4 separate regions of the Homo sapiens genome follow, and regions 2, 3 and 4 are each linked to region 1. The links are contacts of gene promoters, found by promoter capture Hi-C in blood cells and fetal thymus (Javierre and others, 2016). All regions are on one chromosome and are shown on one strand. The core of a region is centred on a gene start or on the middle of the fragment in contact, and the rest is flanking DNA. Distances in the headings are between cores, read along the strand shown.

Evidence for each region. The method cuts DNA at HindIII sites, captures the fragments that hold promoters and counts their contacts. A CHiCAGO score of 5 or more calls a contact.
Region 2: a fragment that was not itself captured here is called in contact with the fragment with the promoter of DPPA5 in region 1 in 1 of 17 cell types (total B cells); the score reaches 5.1 in total B cells.
Region 3: a fragment that was not itself captured here is called in contact with the fragment with the promoter of DPPA5 in region 1 in 1 of 17 cell types (naive CD8 T cells); the score reaches 5.2 in naive CD8 T cells.
Region 4: a fragment that was not itself captured here is called in contact with the fragment with the promoter of DPPA5 in region 1 in 2 of 17 cell types (total B cells and fetal thymus); the score reaches 6.2 in total B cells.

The regions. Positions count from the first base shown.
Region 1 is chr6:73,350,380-73,357,676 of GRCh38, reverse strand. It overlaps DPPA5 (developmental pluripotency associated 5), which reads left to right and starts at 3,401. Exons shown (of 3, transcript NM_001025290.3): 1 at 3,401-3,563; 2 at 3,645-3,824; 3 at 4,299-4,614. The coding sequence starts at 3,452. The coding sequence ends at 4,357. RefSeq lists enhancers at 3,348-3,847, 3,848-4,349. The HindIII fragment of the contact is 13,079 bases long and covers 1-4,434 here.
Region 2 is chr6:72,351,220-72,358,516 of GRCh38, reverse strand. The region is part of intron 29 of RIMS1 (regulating synaptic membrane exocytosis 1); the gene reads right to left. Among named protein-coding and RNA genes, the nearest start is that of KCNQ5, 270 kb to the left of the region's middle. The HindIII fragment of the contact is 2,539 bases long and covers 2,460-4,998 here.
Region 3 is chr6:72,409,225-72,416,521 of GRCh38, reverse strand. No RefSeq gene overlaps it. Among named protein-coding and RNA genes, the nearest start is that of KCNQ5, 210 kb to the left of the region's middle. The HindIII fragment of the contact is 1,699 bases long and covers 3,529-5,227 here.
Region 4 is chr6:72,433,806-72,441,102 of GRCh38, reverse strand. No RefSeq gene overlaps it. Among named protein-coding and RNA genes, the nearest start is that of KCNQ5, 180 kb to the left of the region's middle. The HindIII fragment of the contact is 1,913 bases long and covers 3,135-5,047 here.

The sequences.
Region 1 (7,297 bases), core at 2,152-4,651:
AGAGCAGCCTGACCAACATGGAGAAACCCCATCTCTATTAAAAATATAAAATTTGCTGGGTGTGTGGTACATGCCTGTAATCCCAGCTACTCAGGCAGGAGAATCACTTGAACCCGGGAGGCAGAGGTTGCAGTGAGCTGAGATCGTGCCATTGCACTCCAGCCTGGGCAACAAGAGCGAAACTCTGTCTAAAAAATATAATAAAATAAAAAAAAATTAGCTAGGCATGATGAATTATGTACATATAAAAGAGTTTTGGATTAGATACTTAGAAAGTTGTAGGAAACCATCTAGAGCAACACTGTCCAACTGAAATAGAATGAGAGACAAATAATACTAACTTTCTCATAGCCTCGGTAGAAAAAAACATGTGAAATGAATTTGAATATTATATCTTAGGAAACCATCTAGAGCAACATTGTCCAACTGAAATAGAATGAGAGACAAATAATACTAACTTTCTCATAGCCTCGGTAGAAAAAAACATGTGAAATGAATTTGAATATTATATCTTATTTACTTTAATATATCCAAAATATTATCATTTTGGCTGGGCACAGTGGCTTGTGCCTGTAATCCCAGCACTTTGGGAAGCTGAGGTGGGCGGATCCCTTGAGTGCAGGAGTTTGAGCAGGAGTTTGAGACCAGCCTGGGCAACATAACGAGACCCTGTTTTTTTTTTTTTTTGAGACAGGATCTCACTCTGTCACCCAGGCTAGAGTGCAATAGCGCAATCTTGTCTCACTGCAACCTCCACCTCCTGGGCTCAAGCAGTTCCTTGTGGCTCAGTCTCCCCATTAGCTAGGACTACAAGCATGCACCCCCACAACTGGCTAATTTTTGTCTTTTTTGTAGATACGGGGTTTCATCATGTTGCCCAGGCTAGTCTTGAACCCCTGAGGTCAGATGATCCGTCAGCCTTGGCCTCTCAAAGTGCTGGGATTACAGGCATGAGCCACCCCGTCCAGCCAACAAGACCCTGTCTTAACTGAAAAAAAATTTAAGAAAAGGAAAAACCAAAATATTATAATTTTAACATATAATCAGTCTAAAATTATTAATGAGAATATTTAAATTTTTGGTATTAATGTCATCAAAATTTTACATGTAGCTTACACTTACAGCATATCTCAAATCAGACTAGACACATTTCCAGTCCTCATGTGACTAGTGACTTTTGTATTGGACAGTGCAGGTCCGGAGTGACTTTTCTTGAAATGCAAAGGAAGGTACCATGGAATAACATGTTTAGGAATAAGTAAGGTATACAGAAATAGAAGTGAGGGTTGCTTTTCATAAGAGTCTGGGTCACAGGAAAAAGGGAGCTTGGGCTGCAGGTGGAATGGGAGATGGGAAATTGAAAGTTTATTATGACTGGGTGTAGTGACTCACACCTGTAATCCCAGCACTTTGGGAGGCTGAGGCAGGCAGATCAGGAGGTCAGGAGTTCGAGACCAGCCTGGCCAACATGGTGCAACTCCATCTCTACTAAAAATACAAAAATTAGCCAATGTGGTGGGGGGTGCCTGTAATCCCAGCTACTCAGGAAGCTGAAGCAGGAGAATTGTTTGAACCCGGGAGGCAGAGGTTGCAGTGAGCTAAGATTGTGCCCTGTACTCCAGCCTGGGTGACAGAGCAAGACTCCATATATATATATTTGATTATTTGGCCAGGTGTGGTGGCTCATGCCTGTAATCCCAGCAGTTTGGGGGGCCGAGGTGGGCAGATCACTTGAGGTCAGGAGTTCGAGTTCGAGACCAGCCTGGTCAACATGATGAAACCCTGTCTCTACTAAAAATACAAAAATTAGCCGGGCATGGTAGCTGGCACCTGTAATCCCAGCTACTGGGGAGGCTGAAGCAGAACCGCTTGAACCCGGGAGGTGGAGGTTGCAGTGAGCAGAGATCGCGCCACTGCACTCCAGCCTGAGCAATAGAGTGAGACTCTGTCTCAAAAAATTTAAATTTAATTTAAAAAATAATAAAAATAAAAACAAAGAAACCCAATTCACTCTACATACTTTAGCATGTTTCTCCTGAGAATAATGACCTTATCTTACATAACTGTAGTACACTTATCCCACTCTAGAAGTTCTAAACTTTAGAAGTTTCTAATACTACTTTGAAATATAGGGCATATTAAAATTTCCTTCATTGTCCTGAAATGCATCCCCCATCTTTGATTCAGAATTATTTGAACTATGCACACAGCATTTAGTGTCTTAGTCAATTAATAAAACAGTCCTCTTTTTGTTTTTCAGATATTGAACCAGAAATCCATTTGTCCCATTATTGGTGATGCTAACTTGGGTCAAGGTGGCTTCTTCCAAGTCTCTACTGTAAAGGAATGTTTTTTTCTCCTTTGCAATTCATAATCTGTGCCTAGGGCTTCCAAACTTGTGACTATCTAGTTCCTCAACAGTCTTCATCTGATAGTTTTAGCTATTGATGATCATTTTCTAAATTAACTACACTGGTGGTTGCAAAAGAACCCATTGTGTGTGTGTGTGCGTGCGTGTGTGTGTGTGTGCGTGCGTGTGTGTGTGAAGAGGTCTGCCTTAAGAAACCCTCAATAATGGACAGCTGAGGGGACATTAGATGTTACCAGGACTGGAAATGCCAGCTTAATCACCATCTGTAAAGCCATAAAACAGTGAAATCACACTCTCATCGAGTGACTCCAGTGCATCGCTCCAAACACTATGTTTAAAAAACGAATAAACCAAATTTATTTACAGAGGAGCCAGAAGCCTGGACCGGTTTTGGCTGGAGTGCGCAGGCAGGGCACAGGTGAGCTTTATAATCCGGGTAGGTTCAAAGACTCTAGAGCCAGGGGCTTCGAAGAACGCTAATCCCTTTAGGTAAGATAATCAGTTTCCGAATTTCGGTTTTCTCTTTTGTTCAATGGCAAGAGTTCCTCCAGAGTTCCCGGGACGTTGTCCGGGTCGCCAGCAAAGTGGAGCCGCGGGTCCTGCTCCTTAAGGCCGAGGGGATACGGACCCTTCTTTGGAACGTGTGAGGCAGGAACTCGATTCGGCAGCTACTGGGTGGTCCTCGCACCCTCAAGCCTGGACGCCCGCTTTCCGAGGTTCAGGTCCCACCGGTTGTTCCCTAGAGGAAGAGGCAAGAGCACCTTGCCCCCAGCCATTCCCAAGCCCATGGGATTCTGGTGCGAAAGACACAGGTCAATGCAGGTGGAAACCCTAGTTAACTTGGAGACAGCTGGGCCCGGGTGAGGCTCTCCCGAAGTCGCGGGAAGCGGAAGAGTTGGCAACCTGCTGGACCGCAGCCAGGGCGGCGGGGCATGGACTCAGGGTCCTGGCCCGGGCCGGGGGCGGGGCCTGGCCGGGGGCGGGGCCACCAGGTGCGAGGCTTTATCGCCCCTGAGCCTCGGCCGGCGTGATTAGGCCTGGTTTGCGCTGGAGAGTGGTCTTGGTTGTGAGGGTCATAAGATGGGAACTCTCCCGGCACGTAGACATATCCCGCCGTGGGTGAAAGTTCCCGAAGACCTGAAAGATCCAGAGGTGTTCCAGGTCCAGACGCGGCTGCTGAAAGCCATTTTCGGTGAGTGTGCCCAGTACTGGCGGGCTGCCCCGGCTCGGGAGTCTCAGCCGGCCCGGGGATCTCATCTCTTTTCCCCAACAGGCCCGGACGGATCTCGAATCCCTTACATCGAGCAGGTGAGCAAGGCCATGCTCGAGCTGAAGGCTCTGGAGTCTTCAGACCTCACCGAGGTCGTGGTTTACGGCTCCTATTTGTACAAGCTCCGGACCAAGTGGATGCTCCAGTCCATGGCTGAGTGGCACCGCCAGCGCCAGGAGCGAGGTGAGAGGCCCAGAGACTGGGTACGCGGAACACAGGCTCGCGGGGGCCGCTTCGCGCCTCTCCTCCAGCCCTCTCCTCTTTCTCCTCTCTTGCTCGCTGCCAGCACCTTGGGCGTCACCAGGGGTGCCCTTGGCATCTGGGCCTTCCCAAGACCCCTTTGGGAATGGGGGCCCCAGAATGCCGGCCGTCGGTCTTGGAGACCCAGGGGTGAGACTATGGTGAAAGGCGGCTGGTGCTGGACCCACTGGGCAGGGTTATCTGAGCTATCTCAACCGTCTCCCCGCCCCCTTCAGTTTCTTGGAGAATGTTCGAATGGGCCGAGTAGTCTCGGGTTCCAAGGTTCTGGGCCTGACTCTCAGGCCCAGAACGCCTGGATCAGAAGTCCCAGAAACGAACCCTGAAAGAGGCGGAGAACAGTCCGGGCGCTTACTATTTTCCCCCAGACTCACGCCGCTGTTGCTATTTCTGGTGCAGGGATGCTCAAACTTGCCGAAGCCATGAATGCCCTCGAACTAGGCCCTTGGATGAAGTGAACCAGTTTCCAGCCAATGCAATGAAGCCGGGTTGCAGAGATTAGGTTGTGGCCAGAGCTAGAGTGATTCCTTAAGCTTGTTTTAAAATCTGCTCCAGCCTAAAGAGTTAAGGGAAAACCATTTGTTCCCTTAAAGAGTTAAGGGAAAACCCTTGGCTCTGAGTCTTGTTGTGAATATTTCTTTGATGATTGTTAATAAAAAGTGTTTTTTCTTTTTTCCCATTTTTAAAAATAACAATAAAGTTTTAAATAAGTTGATAGTTCAGTGTGGTTGATGGATTGTAGGTACTACCTTAAATATCTCTGAAGCACAGCTGAAGTGTGGCCCTGAGCTTAACCCTTAATTGAAATCCTCCAAAGACAAAATGAGGGTCCAAAGGCACACTTGGCTAGTGTCAAAAAGGGTGGAGGAGCCAGGGTCCTGAGATGCAGCACTGAACTAAAAACCTATGGGAGATGTGATGATTGTCTCAAGTGACCTGGACTCACTTGAAAACAACCCTATAATAGGTTGACATTTTGTATATAAGCTGAAAAGCAAATGTGTCCAACAAAAATATGGGAAGTCAGAACCATTGTTAGTGTAGCATGTTTTGTGTGTGTTTTTTGTTTGTTTTCTTTTCTTTTCTTTTTTTTTTTGGAGACGAGTTTTTCTCTTGTCACCCAGGCTGGAGTGCAATGGAGCGATCTTGGCTCACTGCAACCTCCTCGACCCCCCTCCCCCGCCCCCACCCCTTTCAAGCAATTCTCCTGCCTCAGCCTCCCGAGTAGCTGGGATTATGGGTGAGTAGCTGGGATTATGGGTGAGTAGCTGGGATTACAGGTGTGAGCCACCGTGACTGGCCAAAATCTCAGATTTTCAAAGGGTTTTGCTCTCTTCTCCCAGGTGGTCCATACTCAGGGGAGATCCTCTCCTCTACAGTCTGCTTAACCTGCTTTATTTTTTCTTTATGGCATTTATAAACTCGACCGATAGTGTTAACTGGTCATTTTCCTCCTCTCTACTCCTAAGATTTAAACCCCAACAAGGCAGGGACATTGATTTTTTTGTTGTTCTTAAGAGGGGCAATATGGTATAGTACATAGTGGTTAAGGATAGTGTTGTAAGAAACGGACAGCAGCTAGAATACCTGGGTTTGAATCTTAACTCAGCTACTTATTAGCTGGGGAACCAGGCATATGTTAGCCTTTGTGCTTCAGTTCTCCACCTGTAATATGGGGATAATTATATCTACCTCATTGGGTTGCAGTGAGGATTAAATGAGATAAGACTATGTCCTAAATCTGCGAAGTATTAAAACAATGTCTGACACAATGGGCATTATTTCTTGAATGTATGAATAATAGGCTACTCTTCCTCTACTGCAGGACTGGAGTAGACTCCTGTATTACAGGTTCTGAGGGAGGAGGGACTCCAGCTTCCAGTCCTATCCTCTAAGGTTCTCATCATTGAAGACTCAGAGGGAGGGCCATGAAAGTCTTGTAAATGCATTGTTTTTCTACCCCCTGGAAGTCCTGGGTGCAGTTTCTGGGACCATTAGATGCCATACCACTTGTGGGTCCCTGAGAAGACAAAGGCACATTTGGCATGCTATTGAGCTTTATTTGGAGTGGAGACCAAGGGATCAGTCACGTACCCTATTGGCATTTTTACCCTCCCCCGTCCCAGCCCTGAGACCTGTGGCTGGAAGGTCCTAGACCACTCAGCCTGGCTCCTGCTCAAGATTTTGAAGGAAGGCCAGGCGTGGTGGCTCACGGCTGTATTCCCAGCACTTTGGGAGGCCAAGGTGGGTGGATGACGAGGTGAGGAGTTCGAGACAACCTGGCCAACATGATGAAACCCCCGTCTCTACTAAAAATACAAAAATTAGCTAGGCGTTGTGGCGGGTGCTTGTAGTCCCAGCTATGTGGAAGTCTGAGGCAGGAGAATCGCTTGAACCTGGGAGGCTGAGGAAGACCGTGCCACTACACTCCAGCCTGGGTGACAGAGAAACTCTGTCTCAAAAAAAAAAAAAAAAAAAAAAAAAGAATTATCTGGGCACAGTGGCACATGCTTGTAGGCCTAACTACTCAAGAGGCTGAGGCAGGAGGTTCGCTTGAGTTCAGGAACTTGGGGTTACAGTGAGCTATGATCGTACCAGTGTACTCCACCCTGGGCGAAAGGAAACTGTCTCAAAAAAAAAAAAATCTAAAATGATAGAAGTCTCCCTCCTATCTCATTTCATATCATACATTTCCTACTTCCCAAAAATAAGCAATATTTTCTTGAATGTCCATTCAAGAGTTTTTAAAAAATATAAGGAATTATACGTGTAGATTATTTTCCCTCCTTTACAGCTGGGTATTATTCAATTTAATTCTCTACAAAATGACTTTTGAGTTTATTCCCAATCTTTTGCTTTTACAAAGATGAGATGAATACTTTGAATAACTTTTTTTTTTTTTTTTGAGACAGTTTTGCTTTTGTCACAGGCTGCAGTGTAATGGCGTGATCTTGGCTCACTGCAACCTCTGCCTCCTGGATTCAAGCGATTCTCCTCCCTCAGCCATCTGAGTAGGTGGGATCACAGGTGTGGGCCACTACGCCCTGCTAATTTTGTATTTTTAGTAGAGATGGAGTTTCACCATATTGGCCAGACTGGTCTCCAACTCCTGACCTCGGGTGATCCACCCGCCTTGGCCTCCCAAAGTGCTGGAATTAACGGTGTGAGCCACTGTGCCCAAAACAATACCACTGTTTTGCAAGTCTGCCAGTAGTATGTCTGTAGGTTAAATTCCCAGAGGGAGAATTGCTGGTCCAAAGGGGAAAAACATAATTTTGCTAAATATTATCATAGAGATTGCCTATTTCCCCATTGCCTCACCCTTTTTTGTTGAATCTGATGAAGTTTCCCTGTCTTTTGTGCTGATAGCTTGAATTTGCTTTATGGACTAACAGTTG
Region 2 (7,297 bases), core at 2,480-4,979, 1.0 Mb after region 1:
TTTGCAAACACAAATTCTGTTGAATTTATCAAAGCAGTCTTTGCTAACCAGTAATTCTGGAATCTCAGCAGCCACTTCAAAATATTTGTTCCAGTTCTCATACAAATGAGAACTTTACTTTGTATTAGAAAAATACTCACTAAAAAAAAGAGAAAAGTACTCACTTAAAAAAAGAGAAAAATACTCATTGAAATGTTTCAGAAATAATGATCTTAAAAACAGAATTGTAAAGATTTCTCTATCACTTTCATTATCTACCTTGACTCCTGGCCATAGTCTTTAATTATATTTTGTTGGATTATATTTTACAGTACCTATGCTTCTAATCTATCAGCACCTTTTTTTTTTCTTTCTGTTCTTTACTTACTTCTATGAGCAGCAAAAGGGAAAAAATAATTTCATATATAAATCCAGTAATTGTTTTGGGACTCTACTGTGCTGTACAGACAAGGTGGTGATACTGTTTAAAATGAATTGTTTCCTAACGGGCACCAGCTGTGTTTGAAATCAATGTATAATGTGTGAAAGTTATAGTTGCATAAAAGTGAAATGTAAAGACGTTGAGCATCACTCAGAAACTGCTATTTTTTGATGTCTCAATCTCTATGAAGAACCAGACCTAATATATGTTTATCTTTAGAGAAAATTAAAAAGTTAGGTGATACTTTTAGCATTGTCAATTACCAATAATGCAAATTTCAGAAAATTTCAGAGTGGAATTATGACTGAGATACGGTTATGAGCAAGTTTGGTTCCAAGCTTACAGAAGTGCTAAATGTTGAATATCATATGTATGTAAAAATCAAGTAAAGAAGGATTTGATTAAAGTCACTGTTGTGAAAAACAAGTTACAGAACCATAGACTGAAGAGCTTGGAAGTATTAGAGACCCTGTAGAATCCAATGCCATGAACCTGCTGCAAAGAAAACTGGCTGAAAAGGTGAAAAGAAAATTGCCAAAGTCATATAGCTAGCCTCTGGCAGAGAGGCACCTGAAATCCAGGTCTGTTGACTCTCAGTACGGTACATATTCTAATACAAGTAAACATAAATACAGAACAATCCCCTAAGTCTATTTGTTACACCTTAGAATATTCTACCCATAAAATATTCCTATCCCAGGATGAGAGGCTGGTGCAGTTCATGTATGTGCACCACTCAGCAGCAGAACTGATCCTTCATCTGAGTAAAGAGATGGTGGATTGCAGGATGCCCTTGGGCTGCTATGAGAACATTTCAGCCCAAAGTGCTGGTCCCACTCACCCTCCAACTGAACCTAGTTGAGGATTAAACATCAAAGCCACCCCAAACCTGCAAGGTTAATGGGAAATATTTTCTCTAGAGGCTCCATGGAAAATAATCTTTATTCTCTGGCCCACAGGCTAAACTGAACTCAATACAAATTACTGAATAGCTTAGACAAATTTTGGTGCCAGGTAAAAAGAAGTTTGATATCTGTGGTATTTAGCTGTGCTTTATCCTGTAGTCACAGATCCTATAGCTGCAATAAAAAATCTTTGCTGTTCACCCACAGATATGTATGTCTGGCTTTAAAATTTTGAATTATATTCATAGGAGGAATTAAGCAGTGTTTCAGAGGATATTTGAAGCTCAAAGATAAAGGTAGAATTTAGAGAAGAATGCTCTTTTATACTAAAATATTTTGGAAAATTTTTTATAGTAAACATTAGTATATGATAAGCAGAAGGCTAAAGTCTCATTTTATTTTATTTTATTTTTTATTATTATTATTTTTTGAGACGGAGTTTTGCTCTTGTCACCCAGGCTGGAGTATAGTGGCGTAATCTTGGCTCACTGCAACCTCTGCCTCTGGGGTTCAAGCGATTCTCCTGCCTCAGCCTCCTGAGTAGCTGGGATTACAGGTACCTGCCACCACACCCAGCTAATTTTTTGTATTTTTAGTAGAGATGGGGTTTCATCATGTTAGCCAGACTGGTCTTGAACTCCTGACCTCAGGTGATCCACCTGCCTCGGACTCCCAAAGTGCAGGTATTACAGGTGTAAGCCACCGTGCCTGGACACATCTCATTATTTTTTAGATAAAATTGAAGACTTAAAAGAATATTCCTCTTTTAGCTGCTGTTTGAGGCTATGCCCTGTCTTTCTGGAGATATGCACTACTTCCCTTTGCCATTAGAGGCCTTTCAGTGGAAGAGTTTAAGAAACACAGAACATCATTTTTTTTTTTTTTAAACTTACCTTGGCAGTACATTTCCAAATTCCAAAAAGCAAGCCATAGAATTTCAAGTCTTCTTGAAGCTTAGTGATTTGGAGTTAAAGTAGTTTTTAGTTCATACGTTCCAAAGATAGGAAATAATTATGTTCTAAAGATACCGTTAAGGTCAGTTGTCAGCATAAAGTGGACATAATTTAGAGATTGTTGTGTCAACTGACTGGATATATAATGTTAACCTGTGTTTGGGGTATCACAGGAAAGCTTAATATAGTAGACTGGAATCACCTTCCAGATTATGTGGAAGAATTACGTCAATGATGATATACAATATTCTTTGTACTTTTTGAGATGTCTAAGCCAAATAAGTATCTAGAACGCAACAACAGAATCTTCTGAGAACAGTGGGAGTCGTTATGTGTAATCACAGAAACGTCAAAAGTGTATTTTATCAGCAAATCTGATTATTATGCTCATTATGATATTTTTGTTATTGTTGGGGGAGGAAGGAAAGATGGTTATAAATGACAGGTATCGAATTAGACATGTCAGAAGACTTCATAGGGAGCTCAACGATTCATTTAACCAAGCAATAAACCACTGGGAAACTAGATGGGAGACATGTATGTTTATTAAAATATCATGCAGAATAGGAGGTGGAAATATCCAACATCTCGAACTGGCAGTCTCTAACCTGATAACATAACTGCTGCACAATTTTTCAGTGTAAAAAATCAGCTGCTTGTTCTAAAGGTGTTTTCACCCATCTTTATGCATACAAAAGAGGAATAATAACACAATTCGCCTTTTGGATATAAGGAAAAAAGGAACAATCAAGGAACAATAATTTTAATAATTTAAAAATCTTTACAACCCCAAATATATTGTAATGCTATTATTTTCCAGGTTATTTTTGCTCTAACAACAGTATGTAAATACATATATTTTCTTGTTTTGAGAAGTTAAGATTTAGTTGTAATACAAGTAAATCCTCTAAATAAACTATTTTTTAAGGGTATGATAAATTGTAATACTTACAGGGATTTTTATGTAAGTAGTGAAAGATGAAGTTTAGAGACAATATAAAAGTTTAGAGACAATATAAAATCAACTATGGATTGACTAGAAGATAGTTGTATGTCCCTTTAACCCGTATTTTCATTTTGTCAAAAATTATTAAGTGACACAACTGTTGTTTAAAAACAGAAAATAAAACTTTAGTTAAGTATACAAAATGCATGTATTCACTCTCCTTTCTAAGATATTGTCTACCTTATTGGTTGATAGCATTTTCGGTGCACTATTACAACACATAACAGTTCTCCCCACACCAATTTGGCTATATAGGTCTATGAACATTCCTCGCGTTTAATATTTAAACATGCCACTGAGCACAAAAAAAAGAATTAAAAAAGTAAAATCTAACATTGGCAGTTGGGTTTTATGTATAAAGTAGCAACAGGGCAGACCTCAGGTGATGTTTAGACTTACTTCTTGGCCTAGACTTATGTTAACAGAACCCCAAAAGGTCTAAAGCACTAAAGAGGTTTGCCAACTACACTTAGATGTGGGTAGATGTTCTATGGGTTTACAAATACAAGGTGAATAAAACTGAATATACCCATCAGAATCTTTATATTCTACATAGCAAAACAGTACTAGGAAAAATTAGAAATAAATCAAGTCTCCTATAGTTAATCAACAGCAACTCTCTCACTTAAAAAGTAACACTGGGCATAGCATACAGAGCATCTAAGAAACAAAATGTATGCAATTCCAAATTTTAGATATTACACATTTTACTTCTTTTTGTTAAAGATGTGCTCTGTAATCATTACAATTATTTTAACTACAGCAAATACATGAGTAGGTTAAAAATTGGTATCTCATATATCCCATAAATATATATACCTTTTATGTACATACAAAAATTAAAAAAAATTGGGCTTAGTGTTAGAAGTAAATTTAATAAAATAGAGTTCTAGCTTAAGAGCTAGAATTTTCCATAGTGAGAAAACTGTCCCCATGGAGTAGCTAAGAAGACAGAATATGTAGGCGCAAAGCCTGGGTTTTATTTATTTGTTTGTTTGTTTATTTATTTATTGAGACGGAGTCTCACTCTGTTGCCCAGGCTGGAGTGGAGTGGCATGATGTCAGCACACTGCAACCTCTGCCTCCCAGGTTCAAGTGATCCTCCTGCCTCAGTCTCCCTAGTAGCTGGGATTGCAGGCACGTGCCACCACGCCCGGCTAATTTTTGTATTTGCAGTAGAGACGGGGTTTTACCATGTTGGCCAGGATGGTCTCTAACTCCTGACCTCAGGTGATTCACCTTCCTCGGCCTCCCAAATTGCTGGGATTACAGGTGTGAGCCACCGTGCCCGGCCAAAGCCTGGGTTTTAATACTAGCTCTGCCAACCCCCAGTTACTTAATCTCTATACCTTAATTTCCTTACTGTATACAGGAAAAATGTTAGCAGAACCTATTCCATTGGCTTGTTTTAAAGATTAAATAGTGTTGATAAAACAACCTGGAAGAGTAAATGATATATAAATGTACATGCCTGTTATTTGTAGACATAAACAAGCCAGAAGTAGTAACTGAGTATCAGAGGTGAGAGAGAAGAGAGAGAAAAAGAGCAAAATAATGTGTGCTTTGTGACGTGACCACTTCCCAATCACCTTCCCTCCAATCCCCCCATGACTAACAGTTTCTTCATCAAAGTCTATTAAACTCATAAAGCCTGGACATGAACAAACGTTTTTTGTTCTGTTTTGTTTTATAAAGCAAGGAAATGGCTAAGCTTTATGCAGTCTATGTTGTATTGAACAGGGGAACCTGGACTCTAAGAGTCAAAAGAGGCCAGGAAATTTTAAAACTGACGAATGAATAGAAATTGTGGGGTCAGTTTTGGATTCTGACAGGCTTTGAAACTCGGATAAAGGGGCTCTCAAATTACATTGTCAGTGCACAAATTTTACAGTAACATAAGAAAGCACCAGTATTTTCAGACTTTACTTTAGAACAGAATTTAAACTCAGCCGGACGTGGTGGCTCATGCCTGTAATCCCAGCACTTTGGGAGGCTGAGGCTGGTGGATCACCCGAGGTCAGGAGTTCGAGACCAGCCTGACCAACATGGTGAAACCCCGTCTCTACTAAAAATAAAAAAACTAGCTGAGCGTGGTAGTGGGTGCCTGTAATCCCAGCTACTCAGGAGGCAGGAGAATCACTTGAACCCGGGAGACGGAAGTTGCAGTGAGCCGAGATCTCGCCATTGCACTCCAGCCTGGGCAACAAGATTGACACTCCATCTCAAAAAAAAAAAAAAAAAAAAAAAAGAAAAAAGAATGTAAACTCTCAAATGACTTAATTATTTATAATGAAAGCCTTTTCAAGTTGTGTGTGTGACAGTCAGTTAGTGGTTTCTCCCCTTTCCAGTTACAGAATTCATAGTAAGTGGTTGCTAAGTCAGGGATTTTATTTCTCGGGTCCCATCCCCAGCATCTAGGCTTGGCCATGTGATTAACTGTCATTAATAGAGCATTAATAGGAATGATGTGTGATGCTTCTAGAACAAGGCTTTTAGTAGTCAGATATATGTTCTCCATTTCCCTTTTATACTTTTGCGATATGGATTCAAATGACAAAAATGCATAACATGTAAAGAACCTGGGCACCTGAACCACTGCACAGAGGAGAGTTGACTGCCTGCCATGAGCATCTGCCTCAAATTATTAAATTAACAATAAATAGAATTTTACTAAATGTGAGCCTTTATACTTTTAGGGTAAATTTTTATAAAAACTAGAATTACGTTAGCTAATATATCAAATTACTTGAGGATGATATAATAGTATGATGGCTAAGAATAAATTCTACCACACAAATACTGTGCCTATCAGTTATTAGCTATGTGATCCTGGGCAAATTAATCTTTCTGAGTTTTAGTTTCCTTATCTAAATAAAATGATGATAATAATGGTACCTGTTTTAGAGTGCTAGAATTGTGCCAGTATGACTCATTGTATGTACCTGATAAACCCAGTCTTCATTAATATCTACAATTAGGCTTATCCCTGTGGATGAGTGAATTAGCTAAATAAGCAGAACAAATGAATCCAGTTTTCTTGTAAGTATACAGAAACATTCTGAACAGTTTAAGATAGTCTACCAAGAAGCTGGCATGGTTGTACAGTAAAACGTTTGCAGAGTCAGAAGGTTCACTGACAGTGCCACCTCCTCGGCCAACTTCAATGACATGCCCCATTTAGAGCACAGACTCTGTAGCCCAACTGCTGGATTCCAATTCCAGCTCTGCCCTTACTATGTGAACTCAGGCATGTTACATACCTCTCTGTGTTTCAATTTCCTCATAAGTAAATGGGACTAATAAAGTGAGGCATATCACTGAAGATGAAAAATAGTGGTGTGCTTCAGCTTAGTCTTAGGGTATAAAATTATATAGATATACATGTTATAATTTTCTCCTTGTAAAAAAATGAAGTCCAAATTAAATATTTTTCTGGTTATAAATGACAAAATGCTCACCATCGACACTGAAGATTCTGGATATTTACAGGCAATTATACATTTAACTAGTATATAATAGCATTTTAAACATACTGAAGGCATGTGGTGTAGTGGTTAAGGACTGAGGCTATAGGCACAGACTAAAATTCTAATTATTTCTTTGCCACTTACTAGCTGTGTGACAATGGTTAAGTGACTTAACTTCTCTCAGCTTCTGTGTTTTCCTTGAAGAATCCAGCCAATTGTCAGGGTCCTGTGTCACAGTCTCTTGTATCAATGTCATAGGGTTGCTGACAGGGTTAAATGTGACAATACACATTATAAGCCTTACAAAGGACCAGTTTACATAATATGGGCTGAACAACTCTTAGCCATTCTTATTAGTAATTATTAGGCACTTGATCAATATCTGTGGAATGAATGAAATAAATGTTTGACATCACCTAAACATGACTGTCAGTGATGAGTGAAAATAAAAACAGTAGCCATTTAAGTTCAGTGGAAATGATTGCTGGTTTCAGGCAGTGCTGACCTAAAAATTTAATGGTGGGAACAAAGGTAAAGCTTAAAAC
Region 3 (7,297 bases), core at 3,129-5,628, 940 kb after region 1:
TCTTCTCTTGGGTAACATCTTCCCAGCTTCTTTAACCTTTTAAAGGAGGTGGTTTTGCAATGATATTCAAATTATGCTTAAATTTGGGCAGCTCCTTAGGCTTTTAAGTGAAACACTTTATATAATGAAAATAACACCTATAATGAGCATGATAGTATTGATAGTAAAGATGATGGTGATAATTCATTAGGCATTATGTGTTGGGAGCTGTACTATGCACATTTGCAAATATTGTTTTAAAATTCTTACAATTTTTCCTTCTAAGAAAATAATATTAACTTGCCTCAACTTGGAGATGAGGGATCTGAAGAACAAAGTATTTTCATTCCTTGCAAAAGGCTACAAAGCTAGTAATTTCTGGAGCTTGGATTTGACCCCCAGCATACCTTTTCTCTGTTATTGTGCTGTTAACATTATGCACACATCTTAGGTCCCAGCTGAATCCCATCCAACCTGTTATCTTACCTTATGCCTTTTCACCAAGGACAGTTCTATCATTGCAAGGGGCTTGTGTCCTTCAACTCTGGGGAACACCATATGCAGGGCTCTACATGATTCATTAGAAGGCTCTGAGATAGCCTGGCATGATGGCTAAGAACACTGCTTTGCAATCAGATAGACCTGGATGCAAATACTGGCTCCTTAACTGACTAGTTGTGATACCTGCAAAGTCACTTACTTAACCTTTCTGGGATACACTGTCTTTTCCTGTAAGTGTGGGCAATGCTACGTACCTTACAGCTTTAGCAGGAATACGAAAGTTAGATGCAATAACTATGTAAACTACTGGCGATTAGTATGTCTTTCATATAATGATTGTGTTGTTTCTGCTTCATTGAGGTTTTCTGAAAAAGTCATTGTTGTGTCTGCTCAACCTTCACTCAGCCTACACTAAGGGCAGGCAATTCACTCAAATAATTATTGAGGACCTGCTATGTTAGATACTGTGCCAGGCACTTGTAATAGAGCAATAAACATAATCTTTGACTTTAAGCAAATTACTTGACTGGTAAAAGGAGTAGATCCCTCTCCACCCCCCGACAAATTGTAGTAGAATGTGATAATAAAGACTTGAATATTGTACTATGGGAACACAGAGGAATAGCTGATGTTACCTGGGAGGCAGTCAAGAAAAGTTCACAGATGCGCAGTGAGCAAGATCAACAAATGCCACATACAAATCCTGTCCCCCCTCTAAGAAAAGATGGCAAGACAGCATTTCTCTGCTGTCCTTAATCAGTGGTGTGCCAACATACGGCAAGGATGTGATCTGAGGCTGACCTAGTCATTACATTCCCAGGTTTGCCTAAAAGAGGATGATAAAACTCCTGTGCCCAGCTAAGGCAATGGCTCCCCATAGAGCACATAAGTTTGAGCTGGAGATTTCTAAGTCCTATTTATTGCTCCTGAGAAGGCTACTTCTTCATTGCTAAGAGTTTCTATCCAAATGAACTCTGTTGGAGAAGATGGATGTGATTCCTTCTAGTAGCCATTATTTACTTTTGCTCTGGTCACTGAAAATACGTATTTCTTATATAAAATGCTGCTCTCAGCTCCACCAATCAACCAAGAACCCAGACAGTCTCAATCTCTTCTGTAGCAGTTTCCTTGGCAACCAGGACCCAGCCAGGGAGCTCGCCAACCCACAGTGGGACCAAGTGAAACCCTGCAGCACTGTCAGGCACTCTCTGCTTTTAAATAGTAAGCGACCACACAAATGCCAACCCAGCTGCCATCATTCTCTATTTGTAAAGCACCTTCCATCTGGGCACCTCAAAGCGGAATGCTTTCACAACAGGGGTCTTACCTGATTGAGATGAATGTTATCATTATTCACATTGTTCCTATAAGGAATCAGGGGTGAGAAAAATCAAAGGATTCTCCAATGGGCTCTTTTGTCTTTCTTATCTTTTAATATTTTCCCTTTCCTTTTTTTTTTTTTAAACCAATGTTTCTGGCACGCCCTTGCAGTTACTTTTTCAGTTGTCTTGGAAAATGCCACATTAAAAGGCCAGAGTCAAGATCACAGTACTTACTCTTCCTCAATCAGGGCAGCCCCATTGATCTTTCATAGTCATAAAAGGTGAACCCAACTGATGTCTAAGTCAGGCACTGCTCCTGAGGTTCATAATCTGGTTTGCTGGGGAAGGAGGGTGGATTGTCAGCAAAGGAGGACCACATACTGGGTAAAAGTGCCTTCTTTCTCTCCCTGTGCCAACCACTGCTCACACCTGATGCTTCCTATGGAGCTAATTATGAGAAAAATATTTAGGACTCCCATTTTAGTGAATAAAACTTACCAAACGAGATTATTTAGAGCAGGGCTTCTCAAACTTTAGTATCTCTATGAATCACTCGGGGATTTTGTTAAACAGCAGAGTCTGATTCAGTCAGTTCGGGGCGGGACCTGAGGGTCTGTATTTCCGACAAGCTCCCAGCTGTTGCTGGTGCTACTGGTCAGAGGACTGGACTTTGAGTCGCACGGGATCAGGTTCAGTGTTTGTTGTTTACACATACTCACACACGCCTGTATGTGCTGCAGAAGTGGACGAGAAAGAAAAGCACACCTTTCATTCTTAGAGGGTTTTATATATTTAAAAACACTTTGATAGACATTTCTCTTAGGCAAGCAGGGTAGGTAGCATTATCACAGTTTTTTCTGCCCAATGGTATATAGTTATATAATCTCATTAACTATGAGGTTATAGATCCAATTGCTCATACCTGTTCACCACAAAAGACTAATTGAATTAGAATATGTTTGTATTATAGTATTTTTGTTAATATTATGGTATTTGTACACAAATTAGAGTGTCGTTATTAGATTGTTATTAATCACACACATTTTGAAATGCTGTAAATCCTAGTGGGTTCAAGTTACTAGGGAGTTATTTCACAGATTCCACAGAGGGGTTCAAAGAGACATCTCTGGGGAGAGAGGGTGCCTTTGCCAATGATGCATCTCTAGAAGCTCCCACATTCATAGTCAGGTGAACTTTGCTGCTTTGTCCTGATGTTTACTGGCTTTTCTCCACATTGATTGAAATTCCATAATCATGGTGAGAATAATTAGAGTGGTGTCAAGGAATCTCCTACCTCCCACCTGTAGTGGGTTGAATGATGACCCCCATCCCAAAATAAAAGTCCACTCAGAACATCTGAATGTGATCTTATTTGGAAGAAAGGTCACTGCAGATATAATTAAGGTAAGGATATTGAGATGAGAAGGCCTTGACTTAGGGTGGGCCCCAAGTCCAATGACAAACGTCCTTATAAGAGATCAAAAAAGAAGAGAGGGGGCACCTGGAGGCCATGTGAGGATGGAGGTAGAGACTGCAGTTCTACTGCCACAAGTCAAGGAGTGCCAGTAGGCTCCAGGAGCTGGGAGTGGGCAGGAAGCATTCTTCCCTGAGGCCTTTGGAGGGAGTGTGGGTCTGCTGTCACCTTGATTTCAGATTTCTGGCCTCCAGAACGGTAAAATAAGTTCTTGTTTTAAAAAGAAGTTCTTGTCGTTTTAAGCCACAAGCTTTGGGTACTTTGTTGTGGCAGCCCCCGGAAAGAGTGCGCAGCCCCTTACGCACCTTCCAGTGGTGGCTCATGGTCCAGCCTTGAGAAGTTCTCTCCCTGCTGCTCATGCCTCCTCTCTGCCCCCCTGTCCCGGGTACTTGGCCTTGGCGTGGCCTGTCCACACATGGCTGTGCTTGAGCATGGTGGCATTGGTCCCAGGGACAGGGCAACTTTATTCCATAAGTGGAAACGACAGAGATTCTCTGACCACACACACCTGGGGACTGGAAATGAACCTATAATCTCAAGGGAGGTGAGTCAAAACTCAGAATTCATTCACCAAAACAAAACCTCTTGATTGATTCTTGGTGGAGATAAAGATGAAAAAGATTTGAGTATGCATATAATTATAAAATACTTATACTGTATTCTCAAGCAGATATTTTTACACCATATAAAAGGCAGTTGCCCCACAAGATTAGTCCTTAACCTTAAGGTTTAGTCAGTCCTAGTTAAATTTTCCCTACTGAAGGCTAGCGCATCAGCATTGACTCTCAAAAGATCCCTCTGCATTCAGCGTCTTCTCGGACCTGCACGAAGCACTGCTGCCATCTTGTGGCTGAGATGCGCCACTACACCCGCTTATTTTATGAGGTTCTAGCTCTCACCAACAGAGGGCAGGGTTGAGGCCCCTGCCTGCAGACAAACCCTTGTTCATAATTTTGAGCCAAATGCTAGTGTGGCAGAGTGAGATTTCTTTTTAAACTAAATTTTGAGAAGAACCAGGTAATACAACTGCTATTTGCCTGTTAATAAAGCAGGGGAAATTCACAAATATTTCACAGCCTCCTAGGAGGTGAGAACATGCCACTAGATACACTATTTTGAATTTCCTATTTTCCTACTTCCTATCCATCTGATGCCCTAATGGCAGCTAACAGGGAGGAGTCCAGCGTGGGAAGGTGAGGAGGGTTGGGATTGCAGGAGGCCAGGTGATACCCTGACACTGGGCTTCCTGTTACCTTTGGAACTGAGAGGCAATCCAACCCTAAAGTGGTAGAACTTTGTTTAACTCTCCAACAACTAGGGTTCTGATAGCCTGATTTCCTAGGAAAGAGGATTTATGTAGCTCAGAGTTATATTTGGTTTGTGGTTGCTATTAGAGTAAAAGAATCAGGCCTGGTGTGGTGCCTCACACCTGTAATCGCAGCCCTTTGGGAGGGCAAGGCAGGAAGACTGCTTGAGGCCAGGAGTTTGAGACCAGGCTGGCCCACATAGTCCGACCCCCATCTCTAAAAAAAACTTAAAAACTAGCCATGTGTGGTGGTGCATGCCTTTTGTTCCGGCTACCGAGGAGGCTGAGGCTGAGCCTAGAAGTTTGGGGCTTCAGTAAGCCATGATTGTACCACTGCATTCTAGCTTGGGTGACGGAGCGAGATATTGTCTCAAAAAAAAAAAAAAAAAAAAAAAAAGAGAGAGAGAGGGAGAGAATCTATCTTTCTTAGTCTCCATCTATCTTTTCACAAAAGTGAAATTTGCCTGACTGACCCGCATCAACATCCCCCTTCACCTACCCCCAATAAAATCGTCAAACAGAGCAAAGCTCAGAGCAAGAGTGAAGGTTCTGGGGCCTTCCCATTTGTCCTGCCTCCTTCCTCTTCCATCATTGTCTAAAGAAAGGCTCAAAGAATGTTTCTTAATTCTTTATAATTGGAAAGCTTTCATCAAGAGTGTTTTAAAGAAAAAGAAGTGCATTTCTGGAGCATTACTCTAGGGTCACCAACTTATCAATTTTAATCGATGAATCAGAGATCTAGACTGAAAAATCATGAGTGTTTTTGCTGGTTTTACTTAGTAGATAGAAAGGCCAGTGGAAAGTGTGGCCCGTCACAAGGCTCTGCTTTCCAGGCCTGGGCATTCAATCTTTCTGTGCAAACTGAGCTCCTCCAACCCCTGCATCACTTGGAGGTGGGACCGGCTTCATAGGCCTGGGTCCTGGGCAGTCACACCAGCCCTCGCACTCAGGAGGCCTGCTCTTGGCTTCACGCTCTGCTGTTGCTATCTTGAAAATCTTAAGAATTTTTTAACATGCGGGCTCAGATTTTTATTTTGTACTAGACCTCGTAAATGACATAATAGGTCCTGCCTGGGAGTGTGTTAGAGATGCATTATCTGAGGCCTCATCTTGGACTTCTAAAATTGAATGTGTATTTTAACAGGATCCCAAGGTAAATGGTTGCAACTTTAAAATTTGAGCACTGATCTTAGCTGCCTATGAAGTTGTGGTGGCAGAACGCAGATGAGTGAGCAGGGGGTGAGTCCTTGGCAGAGAATGCAGGGGAAGATCTGCCTTCTCCTCTTCAGAATGGAAGAATCAAAAAGCAGAGAGCCTGGGGGTGGGGGGCACTTGGGAGATGATGAAATTCAGGGAGAGAGAGGAGAGTAAGTGGAAATTGTTTTACAGTACAGGAACCAGCTCTCATAAACCATTTCCTTTATAACTTGGTGACCTGTCATAAATTTTTGAAAAACTTAGTTCTAACATTGGAGCACAAAAGTGAAATTGAACCATGACTGACCACTGTTTCTCTGGCTTTAGGATATAGCCTGACCATTGTTGAGCTATTGCTCTACTATGGAATGAGACAGGATTCCCCATTGATCCAAGTTGCCCTTTATCCCTCCACTGTTTCTAGACATTTTCCCCTCTGTTACCCTTCTAGCTCTCAAATCTCCAACCCTTCCAAACTCAACATGCACACTTTGCTTTATGTCATCGGGGGGTTACACATTTACAAAAGAACATCTTGGAAAATACTTTTACTTCAGCCTGTAGCTGCTTTCAGAAGGATAAGAAAACCCCAAGGAAAAGGGGACTCCAATAGTTTAACTGCCAGAAATACAGGTGGTGGATTTATAAAGTCAAAATTAATTTGTAATTTTAAAATTTACTGTTGCTATGATTTAGAAAAAAAACCTTCAAATAGGAGTGTTTTTTTTTTTAATTTGTGTGTCATAGAGCACTTCATATTGGTTACTTGCAATTTTATTGAGCCCAATTATTATACTTCCAGTGTAGAAGTCTCCACCTTAGTGTACATGGTTGAGAAATCAAACAATATATTTGATATAATACCGTGTTAGGTCATTCTTGCATTCCTATAAAGAAATACCTGAGACTGGGTAATTTATAAAGAAAAGACACTTAATTGGCTCACGGTTCGGCAGACTGTACAGGCAGCATGGTGCAGGCATCTGCTTGCTTCTTGGGAGGACTCAGGGAGCTTTTACTCATGGTGGGAGGCAAAGTGGGAGCTGGTACTTCGTATGGGGAAAACAGGAGCAAGGGCAGGGGGAGGTGCCCCACACTTTTAAAGGACCAGATCTCCTGAGAACTCACTCTTTGTGGTGGGGACGTCACTAAGCCAGGAGGGATCCATCCCCATGACCCAAGCAGCTCCCTGCAGGCCCCACCTCCTACACTGGGGATTACATCTCAACATGAGATTTGGAGGGGACATCCAAACTATGTCAGATGGTGAAATTAGACCAAAGAAAAGCAGAAGCCACACAAAACAAAAGTGTTGTTTTTAGAATACAAGCTAGCATGAAAGAAAATCCTGGCTAGGGGCAACAAAATCATAGACTTTATTTTGATTCTCAACTGAAGAAATAGCTATGGATCCCTTTAGCATTATAACTAGCTGTTTTGGGAGTTGGAGGTGAAACTTTGGGATTTATGAAAAGGAGATTGAGTTTTTGTAGACTGAACAGCAGTGATCCAGAACAA
Region 4 (7,297 bases), core at 2,842-5,341, 920 kb after region 1:
TTTTGTATACATATGCTTCCAAAGTGAGTTCAAATGTACATTTCTTTTTTTTCAAATCAGAAGATGATGCTATACTTTAGTAACATATGCTGCACAACATCACCCTCAAGATGAAGCCATTTAGCTATACCACAAATATGAGCCATGCTGAGGTGAGAATGAAATTCACTTTTAAATGAACATACTTATGCCAACAGAGGTAAACTAAATTAGAAGTATGCGATGAGAAATTTGGTCTCAGAATTTGGCTATGAGGGATGACCTACTTTGTGGGGGGTGGGGGGGCTCATTTTTGATTTCCAGAATCTGTGTGTTTCCCTCATTGCATGAGTCTTCCATACCCACACATCTTGTGGGCCATATGGTGCTCTTTTGGAATGACTTTCATTTGATTTTCTCCTTTTCAGAGATTTTTTTTTTTTAAATTTTCACTCTGTCAGAAAGCACAGAGGTCCTTGAGGAAGGGTCTTTTGTCAAAATGCTCTTCTTAGTAGTAGTGACCTTTGATGATTCCACTAGGATTCTTAGCAGAATAATATATCTTCTGAAAAAAAAAGCAAAAAACAAACAGACAAAAAAACCAGAAGTATAGCCTACTGGTGAAGCTTAGAGAAGCATTTTATATAACTTGTTTGGAGGAAGGAAGGAACCCACTCTTCATTTGGGGTTAGGACTTCATTAGTTTCCTCATGGGGAAAATTCACAGATTTCTTTTAGGCAGGGGTTGTGTGATGGGGAAAATGGGCAAGCACAGAGGTGAGTTAGGGGTTAAGGATGGGAGAATACAAACGTCACTTACTGGGGAGTTACTCACTGCAAACCTCAGGGCCATGGAAGAAAGGCACTTGACAAAATCACGTGTGACCTGAGATGTTCAGCAGTGAGGAAGATGAGAGAAAATGGCTCACTACTTCTTACAAGGACCAACCCAAATACGGGGGGACTTCAAAAAATACATGGAAAAATGGAATTAAAAGACAAAAATTGCCAACTTTATTTTTCAACATAAGCCCCATCAAGTTCGGGACACTTCTGAAAGCTATGATACCAGTCATTTAGTCCATCCTTAAAGAAATGAGAGTTGGGAATGTAGCCATGTCAATGCCATCTTTTTTTACATTAGTAACTGAAGAAAAATGGTGCCCTTTAAAGATTAGTTAAATATTAGGAAACAAAAGAAGTTAGCAGAATTTAAATCAAGACTGTAAGGTGAAAGCCTAACGATTTTCCATCAAAACTTTCACAAAATTGCCCTTGTTTGATGAAAGGAATGAGCAAGAGCATTGTCATGGAGGAGGCAGACTCTCTGGTGAAGCTTTCCCAGGTGTTTTTCTTCTAAAACTTTGGCTAACTTCCTTCAAACACACTCATAATAAGCAGATGTTATTGTTTTTGCGTCCCACCCCCTGCTCCTGGAAAGTCAACACACAAAATGCCTTGAGCATCCCCAAAACTGCCGTGATCTTTGTTCTTGATTAATCCACTTTTGCTTTGACTGGACCTCTTCCACCTCTTGGTAGCCATTGCTTTGATTGTGCTTGTCTTTGGGATCATACTAGTAAAGCCTTGTCTATCTCCTGTTACAATTCTTCAAAGAAATGCTTCAGGATCTTGATCCTACTTGTTTAAAATTTCAATTGAAAACTCTGATCTTGTCTGTAGCTCAAGTGGGCACAACATTTTTGGCACTTACCAAGTGGAAAGTTTGCTCTGCTTTAATTTTTAGTTCACAGCTGTGTAAGCTGAATAAGTTAAGATGCCTATGGTGTTGGGCTACTGTTTCTGCTGTTAATTGCTGGTCCTTTTCAATTGGGACACAAACAAGATGAGTGTTTCCTTGCAAGTATGTGTGGATGGTATGGCACTGTGAGCTTCATCTTCAACAATATCTCATTCCCTCTTGAAATGAGTTATTCACTTGTAAACTGCTGATTTATTTGGGACATTTTCCCCATAAACTTTCATAAAGCATTATTTATTTCATCATTCTTCCACGCAAGTTTTACCATAAATTGATGTTCATTCTTGCTTTAATTTTAGCAGAGTTCATGTTGCTCTGATTGGGGCTCTCTTGAAACTCATATCTTATCCTTCTTAGTGGCTCAAATTAGATGCTGTTGAGGCATGTTATAAAAAGTTAGTACAAGTATATTTTGGTGCAAAAAATTTAAAATCCATGCATTTTTTCAGAATATATATTTGTTTTCTGTAAACTTTTAAACTATCTATTAGTATTGAAAATGCCAACAGGACAGCAGGAGAGACTCACGATTAATTAAATACAATTAAGGAGTGGAACTTACTGTACCAAAACAGAACCTGCTCACTTCCCAGAAAGCCTGCCCAGACTTTTAGTTTTCCATCCATTGGTCTTCTTTAAATGTAATTTTTCAGCTTCAGTGTAACACTCATTTGCAGATGAAGCTGGGCTGAAGCACTCTGTTTTCTTCTGGCAGGATAACACCTCTGTGTGGTCTGTTACATTTGTTGTCTGCTTAAGACCTTTCCACCATTGTATCTGCTTACAATTGGTGAAACTCCTGTTTGGTAAGTTGCTTCTCAGTAGAAATGCAATCATAGCCATTATCTGTAGGATGGCACCTTCTCTACTGTTTAGTGTTTTGGATTAGTGGAAGAGCTTTCCCAGTTGATAGTTTGCTATCACCTACTCAAAGCCAGGCAGCCTTTTAGCCAATTTCAACATGCTGCTGCAGGCAAAGAGACACAAATCTGAAATCCAGGAAAATTAAGAAGCCATTTAAAATCTCTTCTACAATGGCTCACACCAGTGTCAAAAAGGGTTTACATTCATATCACTGAGAAAATAACTTTAAAACCTCTTTTCCCCTATCTCTCTGATTCTTTATTCAGGCATACAAGCTGTTGGGAAATTTCTCTTCTCTATCCTCCAAAACTCTATAAACCCAGTCCATGTTAGGTTGAGTACCTCCTACCATCTTTCTGGATCTTTTAAGCTGTCCATCAAATGCTGTTCTTCCGTTCTAATCTAGATTGGTCTAGCTTTCAAAGCATTTTTCAGTTTTCCTTTCTATCCATTACATGAACAACAAAACTGTCACGTGCCAGGCAATGAGAATTTGCTACTTTTGAAAGTTATTTCAAAGATAAAAGCTTAGCAAATCCATACTTTCCCCGCAAAATCACATGAACGTGCTCACAGTGACAAGGCACCCTGCACTCTGTTCTTTTTGAGGAGAAAATGACAATTAATTCTCATGTCAAATTGTTAAAAGTATGTCTACACAGGATTAATATTTTGGTGGCCCAGAGCAGAAAAATGCATTTTAGCAAATCGCCTAGAAAGAGTGATTCCATTCTATGAATAGGTTCTTGAAGTTCTTATTGGTACTGACTGTCAAAGCTGTAGAGTTTCTTTCTTTCTTGATGTCTTAATGTAACTAATTTCTAGACAGAAAGGAAGGCATGTCCAGGCTTCTCTCAAAAAGGATCATCTTGTTAATTCTTTCATGAATTAATCCTGTGGGTGATTAGCAATTCAGGAGCAGGTGTTCAGTTGAGCCTCTGGAGGACCTATGCCCTTTTCAACTCAGAGGAAGTCCTAGACTGGCTAGGATTTTAGAGATAATGGCAGAACCAAGGGCTGAAAGCCTATGATGGGAGGCATTCTGTCTCACCAACTGGTGAGAAGAACAGAGTGCCTTGCTACTATTTGTGTGTGTGTATGTTTGTGTGCCTGTGTCATGTGTGTATGTGTGTGTGTGTGTGTGTGTGTGTGTGTGTGTGTGTGTGTGTGTATTTTGTAAAGTACAGCTTTGCTTACCCTTTTTTTTGGATGGAGTTTTGCTTCTGTTGCCCAGGCTAGAGTGCAAATGCGCGATCTAGGCTCACTCTAATCTCTGTTTCCCGGGCTTGAGTGATTCTCCTGCCTCAGTCTCCCCAGTAGCTAGAATTATAGGCGTGCATCACCACACCTGGCTATTCTTTGTATTTTTAGTAGAGACGGGGTTTCAGCATGTTGACCAGGCTGGTCTCAAACTCCTGACCTCAGGTGATTCGCCTGCTTCAGCCTCCCAAAGTGTTGGGATTACAGGTGTGAGCCACTGTGCCTGGCCTGCTTACCCTTATTATTAAAATCACAAAATTTTAAAGTGCTAAATTAAATGATACATTTAGTACTGTAGGAGTTCAGGTATCTGGGAGATAAAAGCAAGTTGTGTTAGTTCTGGAGACAAATCAGGCCTTGAATGAGACAGGGAGAAGAACTAAAGACCTAATCATAATCTCTTTTTTACATACTTTCAATTTTTAAAATTTGAATAAAAGTATGCAAATATTAAAAATGGGCCAGGCGCAGTGGCTCACACTTGTAATCCCAGCACTTTGGGAGGCCTAGGTGGGCAGATCACGAGGTTAGGAGGACTTCGAGACCAGCCTGGCCAACACAGTGAAATCCCGTCTCTACTAAAAATTCAAAAATTAGTTGGGAATGGTGGCAGACGCCTGTAATCCCAGCTACTCAGGAGGCTGAGGCAGGAGAATCGCTTGAACCTGGCAGACAGGGGTTGTAGTAAGCCGAGATCATGCCACTGCACTCCAGCCTGGGCGACAGAGCTAGACTCTGTCTCAAAAAAAAAAAAAAACAGTTTATCTTTTCTGCATTTTTATGAATCTTCTATAACTGGTATATAATTTATCTTACAATGGGAGAATAAAATCTAAATTATACTTAAAACAACATAGTGATTGAGAGCTGAAGCTAGGCTCTGTAGCCAGGTTGCCTGTATTCAAATCCTGGTCCACTATTCAGGCTGCTACACCTCAGGCAAGTTGCCAGTCTTCTTTTTGGCTCAGTTTTTCTATCAACTGTGGGTACTAACAGTACTTCTCTCCTGGGGTTATTGTGGGTGATAAATAAATTAATACATCTAAAATACTTGGAGAAGTGTCTGACCTAAAGATCATCCTCAGTACACATTAGGCAAGGAGGAAGATAAGAGCAGGAAGAGGAGGAGGAAGATTCTATTCCTCTAAAATCCTAGCACTAACAGCCCAATGAATGAAAGCTTTTTCCTCTTAATGCCTATTTTGGCAGCTAACTGATAAATTGTATTGAAAGAAATCAAGACTGCAATTTCTAGCTCTATTTAATAGATAATAGATCTATTTACTAGATTTATCAAGATAATTTATAATTATCAGGTCATGCAAATTTTATGTTTATTAGTGTTCATAGAGATTTTAATAAGGATTGAAAAATTAAAGCTTAAATAAAACTTACAGTCCCATATATTTACAATAAAGTCATATCATTTCATAGATTTTCTTGCTGAACTATGTGTTTTTCTTTCCCATAAATGTATTACGGACACTTGAAGATTAAGGTAGACCCTGGCTGCTATTTCAGAATCAACCTATCAATTAAACTGAACCAGGAACAATTTTTTTACAATTATAATTCATCTTTTATTTTTATATTTATTTTAGTAGTATTTATTTCTGTATTCCAATTATAAAGGGAATATTGAACATTTAGCATCACAGGTTGTTAATAATCAAAAGAAGTAAAGGAATGGCCTCCAGAAACAATTTATAGATGTTCATTAAAGAGAATTTGGAAGCTATTGAAAAGAACAACTGTAATCCCATCACAGATAGATATTCTTTTAATATTTTGGTATGTTATTTTCCACTAATTTTTTTCCTGAAAAGTGACTCTAATATTTTGATAATTTATCAGTAGATTCTTTAATATTTTGAACATTTTGTTATAAAGTATAATCATCTGTAAATATAAACAGTAGTTAACCCTTTCTGACTGCAAACACACCAGCAAAGTGTTTTGTTTGTTTGTTTGTTTTGCTGTGGGTGCTTAAGCGTTGTGACACTTAATAGGCTAGTGTCCCTTTTAACACTTAAAAGGGACACATAACTGAAATAGTGACTTGGTGTATGTAAAATCCACCTGCTCTTACGAATAGTTTCTAGAGGTTATCCCTTCCCTCCCTTCCCTCCCTCCCTTCCTTCCTTCCTGCCTTCCTTCCTGCCTTCCTTCCCGCCTTCCTTCCTGCCTTCCTTTCCTTTCTTCCTTGCTTGCTTCTTTTTCTTTCATTCATTCTTTCTCCTTCACCTCTTACCCCAGGTCATTTGAAAAAGTACAATATTCTTAGGTGGCAACTTTTTGGGGGTTTTAAGAATTTGTTTTTATCACGAACATAAAATATTAGCACTAAATTAGCAGATACTTTTTCTGTTGACAAATAAGATGACTCACTGTTCTAACACTGAATAGGTCTGTTCCTCACAAAATAGTAGGCCTTCCATTAGACTTATATTTAAATTTAAAAATTTATCTTATTTACTTATTGTGCTATTGTCCACGTATTGAACATAACTTTAACAATCAAACATATGAGTTATAAAAATTAGTGTATAATATTTATTAATAGGGCACTTCAATTAAACAGTATTCTTCTTACTCCACTCCTAAAAAATTAAAAGCATTCTGAATTACATTCATATTATTCTCAATTGCCATTTAGGATTGTTGGTTTCCCACATTTCTTTAAAAATCAAAGAATTATTTCTGGAATTATATCATACAGCTCTACCACCTGCTGGTCATAAACAGTGTAATTATGCACAGTTCTTCCTGTCACTGATGCACACTCTTTGACAATTTTAATAACTGGCTCTGTTATCGTCTCTCTTCCAACTCCTGCCATAACCTTGGAGAAATTTAATTTCCAAAGGAAATAAACCATCCCATCTGTAGATGAAGCTCAGTTTCATGATCATTTTAAACCAAATTGTCTTTATCTTGTTTTCAATCAATATTTCTCTGTTAAGTTAGAAATGATAACTTTGTTATTCTCCTCTACAACCACACCCTTCTCTTCCTCTACTCGGTCAATTACTTCCATTAAATTTTCCCTTTAATTAGCTGAGATCTCTAGGTCTTTGGTTGCTGTCTTTAATTCCAATTGATAAATTCTTTACTGGCTTTTCTTCTTCCCTTAGCGGCTTAAATACTATGGTCAAACCATTTCTACTAGTCTTTCGTAATGACTCAAAGTCTTGTCTACTTGTGTTTCTGTCCTGTCTGATATGTGAAGCCACACTTCTGCATTAATCATCTACCTTTTCTCTTCCCGCATGAAGAGTTGGGAAGCCTGCTAAAGATTAAATAGAAGTCTCAAAACTTTTCAGATTGGAATTTGTACAAATGTATGCTTTCCAACGTCAGCTGAGCCTTTCAATTCCTTGTTCTTGGAAAGATTACTTTCCCACATCCCACCACTCTTTTCAACTCAACACC